Linked DNA regions of Homo sapiens: regions 2 and 3 are each linked to region 1. The links are contacts of gene promoters, found by promoter capture Hi-C in blood cells and fetal thymus (Javierre and others, 2016). All regions are on one chromosome and are shown on one strand. The core of a region is centred on a gene start or on the middle of the fragment in contact, and the rest is flanking DNA. Distances in the headings are between cores, read along the strand shown.

Evidence for each region. Contacts are between HindIII fragments. The CHiCAGO score rates a contact against its expected background, and 5 or more counts as called.
Region 2: a contact is called between a fragment that was not itself captured here and the fragment with the promoter of PLPP4 in region 1, in 1 of 17 cell types (M0 macrophages). The highest score is 5.6, in M0 macrophages.
Region 3: a contact is called between a fragment that was not itself captured here and the fragment with the promoter of PLPP4 in region 1, in 4 of 17 cell types (endothelial precursors, M0 macrophages, M2 macrophages and 1 more). The highest score is 7.6, in endothelial precursors.

Annotation. Positions count from the first base shown.
Region 1 is chr10:120,455,594-120,458,724 of GRCh38, reverse strand. PLPP4 (phospholipid phosphatase 4) reads right to left here and starts at 1,498. Exons shown (of 7, transcript NM_001030059.3): 1 at 1,364-1,498. The coding sequence starts at 1,419. The HindIII fragment of the contact is 6,130 bases long and covers 1-3,131 here.
Region 2 is chr10:120,864,844-120,867,974 of GRCh38, reverse strand. It overlaps WDR11 (WD repeat domain 11), which reads right to left. Exons shown (of 29, transcript NM_018117.12): 6 at 2,763-2,928; 7 at 2,231-2,345; 8 at 1,211-1,406; 9 at 806-909. Among named protein-coding and RNA genes, the nearest start is that of WDR11, 15 kb to the right of the region's middle. The HindIII fragment of the contact is 1,375 bases long and covers 803-2,177 here.
Region 3 is chr10:120,739,229-120,742,359 of GRCh38, reverse strand. The region is part of intron 2 of LINC02930 (long intergenic non-protein coding RNA 2930); the gene reads right to left. Among named protein-coding and RNA genes, the nearest start is that of WDR11-DT, 110 kb to the left of the region's middle. The HindIII fragment of the contact is 668 bases long and covers 1,300-1,967 here.

The DNA.
Region 1 (3,131 bases), core at 249-2,748:
TTTTCCAAATGCATCAAAATCCAACTGAAGTTCTCGTTCCTTCTTCCCAGTGAATAACACCAGTGTTCGGGCAGAAGGCGGGAGAGGGGGGCTTGCTTGCATCTGGGGGAGCTCATGGCCTTTTCTGATGGTGTGAATAAATACTCTGGATGAATTTAATCCCTGCTAAAGAAAAACATGCAAGAAAGGGCATTTCTTTCCATGTGTATCCCCTGGGCTGCCCAGAACAGAAGTCATCTTTGACACAGCACACCTGCCATGGATGACTCCAGATTGAGGCAGAAATTCAAAGAGGGCCTCCTGTTTGGCTCGGGAGGGCTTTTCCAGAAACGAAAACAAAAACAAACAAATAAATAAATGCATGGCAAATCCAAAAAGTTCATGTAACTTTAATACTTAGAATGTGGCAGAAAACATCCATGGGCAGAGAGGGGGAGAGAATTTGGCTCACTGATGGAGGGACCAGTGCAGGTGTGGGTGCCTAGGTGACAGCAGCTCACGGGAGGCTGCGGGGTGGCTCTGAGCTGGTGTTCTGGGCTCAGGTCTGAAAGAGAGATGTGACAGCTCCCTGCAGCTTGGGCCCTGGAAGTCAATGAGCGGTGGGTCCCTGGGCGCACGGAGGAGGCTCAGGCATCTCTGAAAGAACCTGCGCCACCACCCCTTCTTCTTTTCGGGATCGCTGTTCTCAGTGCCAGCCGCTCAAAGCCACCCTGGGCATTTCACGGCTACCCCTGGAGGGCCTCCGCCCCCAAAGCGGACATCGACCGGGCACAGAGCTCCAGGGTGTGTGTATCCCACCCCGGCCTGCAGCCCCTTGACTTCTCAAGCCTCCACAGCAACAGTTTCTCAGTAGGAGAAGCGCCGCAAACGCCCGCTGGGAAAACGCTCGCCAGGACCGCGGGCGCTAAAGCCAGGGACACGGAAGGAGTCTGGCCCTGGGCACAGCGGGGAGGAATCGGAGACGGGGCCAGGGGTAAAGACTTCCAACGTGGGCCTCAAAGATCACACAGAAGGAGAAACTTCCCGAGGGCACGGGCCAGGGTGCGCGTCCCTGTTTAGAGGTGCAGCCCTGGATCCCCCGGGCAGGTGGTGCGGGGCTGGCGACAGGCGCGGGCCCGGTGAGACCCGGGAGCAGGTCTCAGCCTCGGCGCGCGGTGGTCGCTCCGCGCCTAGGGTCCCAGGAAGGAGAGAGGAAGGGTCTCTCTTGGTCCCGTAGGACACGTTGCGGGCACTTGGCGGGGAAGGGACCTCGAACCCAGGCCCCAGTGGGAAGCGGCTGCGCAAACTAAGTTAGGGCACAGAGAGGCTTGGTCGGTTGTTCCCCCGCGTCAGTGCGCCCTGCCCGCGGTGCGCCACTACTTACACGAAGACTCCGAAGAGCAGGGCTCGCACCCCGATCTCAATGGCCAGCTCCCGCATGGTGCGGCCGGAGCAGCTCCCGCGGCGTCAGCTGGTGCTCTCCGCGGCTCCCGCAGCTCGGCCGGCGCCGGCTCGCCAGACCCTGGGAGGCGAGGGAGGCGCGCTCCAGGCCGCGGGCGGGGGCGGAGGCGGGCGCCGGGCGGGGGCAGGCGCCGGGGAGGGCTCAGCCTAAACCTCGCGCCTCGGGCTCCGGGGCTCCGGGAAGCCGCGCCGGCCGCTGGCGATACTGCGGACCCCGCCTCCTAGTGCGGAGCCGGGGCCGCCTCAGGGACTCCCGGATCCCTCTCCCCAGGAGCCGCCTCCGCCTCCTGGGCCCGCGCCGGGCACCCGCGGACCGGGGAGGGGAAGCCCGGGGAAGCCCCACCGCCGCCGCCGCCTCCCTGCGCGCTCCCCGCCTCCCCCGCCAGTGGGCGGCCCCTGGGCTCCGCGCCAGGGCAGCGCGCTCGCTGGGGCTCTGCCCGCGGCCCCTCTGCAGCTCCTGGTCCTGCCTCCGACTCCCGCTGTCCGGGCTCTCGCTCCCTGGCACACGCACGCACGTGGGCATGTAGTGGACGATCGCTCTGGGGATTCTCCAGGGCTCAGGGCAGCCCTGGCCAACCTTGCTCCCGTGTTCGGCCCTCCCTACACCGTTCGAACCTGAAATTCTTTCTTTTTTCTAGGAAGTTCCCCAGAGATCACTCGCGGGCTTCGCTTTGCTCTCAGGAGATGCCAGCCAGGGTCCAGGGCTCCGGCACAGAGAGAGGGCAAAGGCAAGCCTGGCTCCCCGCCATGCCACCAGCGCCAGGTGGCCCCTGGGGACCGAATCCTCTCTCCCCCACCACCTGTCCTCCGCCCCCAGCAGCTTGGGGCTGCTGAACTGTGGAATATGAAAAAGCTCCTGCCACCGTCCCTGGCCTGGCCGGTGTGTGGGAAGTCAGGGTCGCTCGTCGCTGACACAGCATTCAACCAGCCGTCAGCCAGGCAGCAGGTAGAACCCAGAGCCTCATCCTCAGGTTAAGAGCCAAAAGCCCAACCCTCGCAGCCTAGGGGTCACGACCTCCAGCTGGAGCCCAGCAGGAGCTTGGATTTGCTTTTCCCAAACCGGTCAGAATTTTATTTACTTTTCTTAGAATTTTGACTTCTTGGCTTCACTAATTTAAACCAAGCAGACATTTAAAATGCAAAACACACAGTGATTATAACCATTAGGTTGTTCCTGGGGAGCCCAGGCCTCTCTTGGATTTTAGGAGAGACCCAGCCAAAATTGTGTGAGCAGAGGACACGGATTAGAAGGTGGTTCCTGGGACTAAGGAGCTATGGCTCAGTCCTGGATAAAAGGGGGAGCAGGTAGAAAGAACTTAGGAGGAAGCCCTTGGCATCAGCAAAGGGCAAACAGACCCTACCTCCAAAGGAAACACGTGCAGATCAGAGATACCTGAGCCCAGATATCTCAGGGTCTAGAGAGAGAGAGGCAGAGGGAGTAGGAACAACCCAGGCTCTGTGTGGGAGGGACTCCAGCCCTGAGGCACCACAGGCAGGAGCTGTATCTGCATTCCTCATCACTCTATGCCCAGTGCCCGGCACACTGTGGATACCTGGTTGGTACTTAGTAAATGAATAAATATTTATTCATACATATATATATATATATATGGCTATATATATGATATATTCATTCATATATATTATATATGGCTATATATATGATATATATATACACGTATATATCATCA
Region 2 (3,131 bases), core at 241-2,740, 410 kb before region 1:
GCATAAAATTTGAAATCACAAACTCTCATTCTTCCTTTAATACATACTGGCCTCATAATTAAATAACTTTGAACACTTTATCTCCAAAAATGATTTTTTGAAAGAATCCCCAACATAAAAATAATTCATGTCAAAAAGTTAAAATAATCTTTTCTAATACTGCTCAGTTACTTTATTCCTTCAGTAAATATTTACTACAAAACAGGCATGCACAAGGTACTGTGCTGAGTGCTGGGAAAGACAAAATAGAATCAAACACTGTACCACCCTTGTGATGCTTACAATTGATGAGATGAAACAGAAGAAAAAAACCCACAATTAAAATATGCTGATAACTGTTAGGAAAAACAAAAGAAGAGCATTTAAATTAGACTTGGGAGATTAAAGAAAACAACATCTGAGTTGAATTTTGAATTAGGAGTAGCAGACAGAAAGGAAGCATGTACTTCATTCCAAGCTGAGGAACCAGCAAACAGCAAGGCCCTGAGTTGGCATGGCATAGCTCAGCATCGGCTCTAGGTCCAAAATCCAGATGCCTAATGTCATTGCTTTCATTTACATCAGTCTCTCACGAATGAACGTTTTCTATTTCTAACAACTATAATGCAAACCCGTGCTACTTCAGGCACTTTTCTACCTAAGTATTTTAAACCCCTCTGATTTATTTAGGAAAGAATGATTCCATGTTCTAGTTTTCTCAAGTATTAACTTTTTTGACTTTAAAATAATTACAAGTGAGTGATTCTATTAATTTTGCCCTTCAGAAAGAATACTTAACATGGAGTTAGAGGGGAAAAAAGCTTACCAATCATGTTATCTAAGGAAAGGTCTGGGAGTTTATTCTGTAGCACTCCTACAGGAATTCCACAGAAAGACACTGGTGAATATAAAGGTGACACACCAGAACTACTGCAAAGACATAATAATTAGAAGGTTTTACATACTTAAAATCTGCATTACGTATTAGGAATTCAAAGTATTAAGTCCAGATTATGGCATTCTATCTATTTTTATATTATTCATTCATCTTACCCATAGGTGAAATAGCTCTAGCAGATTTACATAATTCCCTAATAATCTAAAGCCTTAATTATTACCTTAAAAATATTTTTATAGAAAACCAGCCCTCCTATTTTTATGATTATGGAAATTTTTTATAAAAGGAAACAGGAAACAAAAAACAAAACCATGATCCTGTTGATTCATTTACCTGTTCCGTGAATTTCGATTACAAACTGCAGACTTGAGTTCCCATATCATGACCCTGCCATCACTCACTACGAGGGCGGCTGCATTCTCATTGACAGGACAGCACACCATACTGAAGGGACGGACGGTTTTTGTCACCCTGATTGCATCACACTGGCTTCGTAAATCATAGGTAAGCTCCTGAACTGGATCTGGATCTTCACATAAAATTGTTTTAAATATCAGAAAGCAGCCATATCGATACCACTACTGTTTGTTTCAATTTAAATAAAACCTCAACTAAATTTGGGCATCACTCCTTCATGAATGCAATGTCAAGCATGGCTTCACTTTTTACAATTACTACTAAATTTTTTCCAAATATAATTTACTTAATGACTGTACTAAGTTTAATTTCCAAAATAACAACTATAATCAAGATATCTTTTTTCAATATTTTAAAATAAAGACGATACTTTGAAAAAGGATCAACAGTGATATATAATTAATGAATAAATTTCCATCATAATTTGTAGTAGTCTATAAGCCTGAAAATAACTGTACTTTCCAAAAGATGTGAAAATCACTTTGATCTTTACACAGTATATAATTTCACAAAAACATTATTTCCATTCTCCAAGATAAGACTGACTTGACAACTGAGACTTAATAACCTCTGTCACTTTACAATGGAAGTTCTTACAGCCAACAAGTCAAGGGGGTATAATAATAAAGGCACACAAGGTTGGACTTGTACTGAAAAAAAAAAAAAATTCCAAAAAATAATATCTACTTGGCTCATGGATATGATCAAGAAACACAAAATTTTACTCTCTTTGATGTATACAGGAGGTGCACTGTTTTAACATCAAGAGATTAATCTTGGGCTTATACTTTTTATGCCTCTTATTATAACCATATTTTAAACTTCCTCAAAGCAAGGAGTATCATTAACTATATACCTTGGCTGGTATTTGCCACATCAAGCTTTATAAAATAATTTTGAAGAAAAATATAACATTATTGTGAGACAGAAACTCACCTGGTTCCTCATTTGAAGTGGTAAAAATGTTATTATAAGATCTTCGAACACGTAAAGTTATACAACCATTTTCATGTAGACAAAATAAACCATCACGCTGAAAGCAGGGTATTACCTTTAAATAGATGATATATTTATTTTTTAAAACACAATAGATTAATAAAGTATATACTGTGAAACTCAAACTCATATTTAGATAATATGGGCAAAAGAAAAAAAAATAGACAAATCCCAAACTTTAAAACTAAATGTACATTTAAAATATCCATTTATAATCCTAAAATAATTTGTCTTTACCCATGTGACTTAAATAGTTCAATAAATATCTCAGGATCAGTCACAATTTCTAGGGTAAATCAAACCAATCAAAAGTGCAGACAAAAAAAACAATCTAAAATAGTGTTGCTAGTCTTTTGATAAATTGAAAAGAGAAAGTGGAGAACTGAAGACAAGACTTATGCAAGATTATGGCCTTCTTTTAATATAACATTCTTAATAATTTTGGGGAATATAATTTATGAATTGTAGATACCTGTAAAAATGGAACTCCTGTGCGTTCTATTGCAATCACACCCACCGTCTGATTCACCTCAAGGTCAAGGATTAAAATCTCTCGAGGATAGAGCAACAACATGTGATTCCTTTTTGAAGGCAGGTATGCCAACTGAAGGCAATCATTGAGAGTTATGAATTCAGCACTGAAAAAAGTAAACATTCACTTGGGTCAAAGACTTCATTTATATCAGACCTAATAAAAGATTTAATTTTGTACTTTACACATAAAAATTGACAATAAAAATGTACAACTATTCCCTGAAGTGACCAACATGGGTTGGCATCCAAAACTTAGATCTCTACTATGTACCAAAATCCAAATGCTAATAATATTGTATAGGATGGG
Region 3 (3,131 bases), core at 384-2,883, 280 kb before region 1:
AGTCACACGAGGACTTATACCCAGGCCTTCTGACTCCATGTCCAGAATTATTTTTACTGTGTAGCCCAGAAGAAACCATAAGGAATGCTATGCAGCAAGAAATAGTTATTAGAGCTAAAAATAGACTAAGTCAAAGGTATACCCTGGGCCATCTATTCATCAACATGAGAAAGTTGTGATGCTATTTCAATTGTCATGATTTTCACATCCCATCAGGTTAAAGAGATCTGTGCACTGTGGACAAGACACAGATTGCTCTGGGTAACTTTTCATGAGCATAACCTGGACTCAGCATGTATATTCCCCTGTAGTGAAAAATCAGGTTCAATCTTAAGAGAAACGTTGGAAATATTTTGAAATTTCCCCATCAGTCATTTGAATACCATTATTGAGACCTTCCATTTCTACCCTGTGCATTACTGCTCTGAACGAATTCTTCTCTACTGCGGAAGACAGAGGGAACCATAGTTTAATGAGAGCCCCAAATTTTGATATCAGTAACCCTTCTTTGAGTCTCATTTCCCTTAGGGAAAGAGTCTGAAGGTACAGAACTTGCTTTTTGATAATGATAACAAGTTGGGAGGAAGATTCTAGCTCAAAATGACAGGATGATGTGCATGTTTGCTGGAGAGAAATGCCTTTATGCACAGCCCCTGAAGGGAGGGACAGACAGGCAGGCTCACTCAGGAGCTGATACCTGGTGTGATCACTGCCTCCGTGCTGATTCCCCCTGCTGCCTGAGCAGGCTGGGTCCTGCCACCGCACAGCATGTCTTTAAACAAACATTTGCACACGGCGCCATTGCCCTCAGAATCGACTTGGAAATTCATGAGAGTCCTAAGTGCCAACTGTGGCACACAAACTCCAAGCTGCTTTGTTGGAAAGGGAAGTTCATAGAACAAGATAAAAACAGAATGGGGATAATTTTTAAACTTCTTTCTCATCTACAGAAAACTTACAACCTTCACAATGATGTAAAAGTGTAATTTTTTCTTTGGGAGACATGGACTTTGAACATGGGTTTGAATCCTGGCTCTTCCTTTATTAGCTTATGACCTTGGACACATTTCTAACTTCTCTGTGGGTCTGTTTCCTCATCTTTACCTTGTAGGACTTTTGTGAAAATTAAATGGGATAAAGTTCACAATATGCCTAGCCAGGAGTCTGGCACAGAGAAGGTGATCAATGACCATTATTACTATAGGCCCTTAAAAATCAGTTATATTAAAATGAATAACTTGAATAACTTCTTGGCCCATAAGTGCTAACTATAAAAATGGTAATTTTTCCCCTTAAGCTTTCGTTTCTACCTGCCAGAATCTAGACCAGAGCATCAGGAAGAGGTAGTGGCTATGACGTAAAGTAAGTGTCTTATATTATGTTGAAATACTAATATAAACCATGTGCCCTTACTTTCCCACAAAAGGGCAAACTTCTCATTTATAGTCCAACAAGATAATTTAGTATCTGGCAGCAAGAGGCACATTCCACCCCTGAACATGATGGTTTGCCTTTACAAACATGATCTGATTTCCAAATTGGGGCAGAGGGAGCAAGACATGATAGCAGCTTTCAATTTTAAATAATACTTCTTTCTCTAAAAAATTTTTTTGTAAAGTTGGTTCTATGTTTCCCAGGTTGATCTCAAATTCTCAGCATCAAGCTATCCTCCTATCTCAGCCTCCCAAAGTTCTGGGATTACAGGCATGAGCCACCATGTATGGCCTTAAATAATATTTCCTAGCTAATAGGAAATTTTTTAGTGTATATAAAAGTTCCTAGGAATCATAAAAAAAGGACAAAACACCAAATTTAAAAATGGGCCAAAGACTTTCACAAGTATCTCATGAAAGAAGATATCAGATGGCTAAAAAGCATATAAACATGCTCAATAGCATTACTTAATAGGAAAAATAAATTAAAATCTCAACCAGATAGAACTACACACCCACCAGAATGGTTAAGCTTACAAAGACAATATCAGATGCTGACAAGGATGTGGACCAACTGGAACATTTGCACACATTGCTGACGGGAGTGTAATTTGGTCTGATCACTGTAGAAAATTGTTTGACGTTTGACACTAAAGCTAAACATTACTTATTACTCAGCTATCCCATTCCTAAGTATAGGCCTACGAGAAGTGAATGTATATGATGACAAACATCAGTTCACGGAATCATGCACATGCTAAAAGTCATTGAGTTGTACACTTAAGAAAGCACGATGGCTCACATCTGTAATCCTAGCACTTTGGGAGGCTGAGGCGGGCGGATCACTTGAGGTCAGGAATTTGAAACCAGCCTGGCCAACAAACCCTGTCTCTACGAAAAATACAAAAAGTTAGCCAGGCATGGTGGGAGGTGCCTGTAATCCCAGCTACTTGGGAGGCTAAGGCAGGAGAATTGCTTGAACCCAGCAGGCAGAGGTTGCAGTGAGCCAAGATTGCACCACTGCACTCCAGCCTGGGCTACAGAGCGAGACTCTGTCTCAAAACAAACAAACAAACAAACAAACAAAACAAACAAAAAGAATGGTATAACTTACTTCATGTAGGTTATACCCTGCCTGATTAAAATAAAAAGAGGTGAAGGGAGGTGTCTTTCCATGAGGAAAGACGGAATGACATGGAAAATGTTCAGGCAGAGTATGGGTAACTATCAGGAATGGTTCACAGAAGACTGCATTAGGATGAAAGGATCCACATTGGGCTCCTCACCTTGGTAAAATCTGTAGAGATCATTTAGATTAGAAATGTGCTTCCATGCTGGGCAGTTTGTAATACAGAACTCTAGAGAGAGGAAAATGGAGTCAGAGATTTCTGTCTTGTAATGGTCTAAAACAGGACTTTTTAACAAGGCACTAGATTTTAAATCTGTTTTCACACTCATTGCTTTTACCTCAGTGGAAGGTGCTTATATGAGGGGACCCCTTTGGCACCTGTCATGATCCCATGAGTCCTGCCTACAGGGATGTTATTTCTGCATCCCAGTTGAGACTGTCCAACCTCTCCAAATAAGGAGCAGGACAGTATGGTGGTTACGAGCAGGGCGGGTTGTGATCTTGAACAGAAGCATAGTTGTTAAGAGGGCAGAGCTGACATTGACTCCCTGGGTTGAAATCCTCTTTGT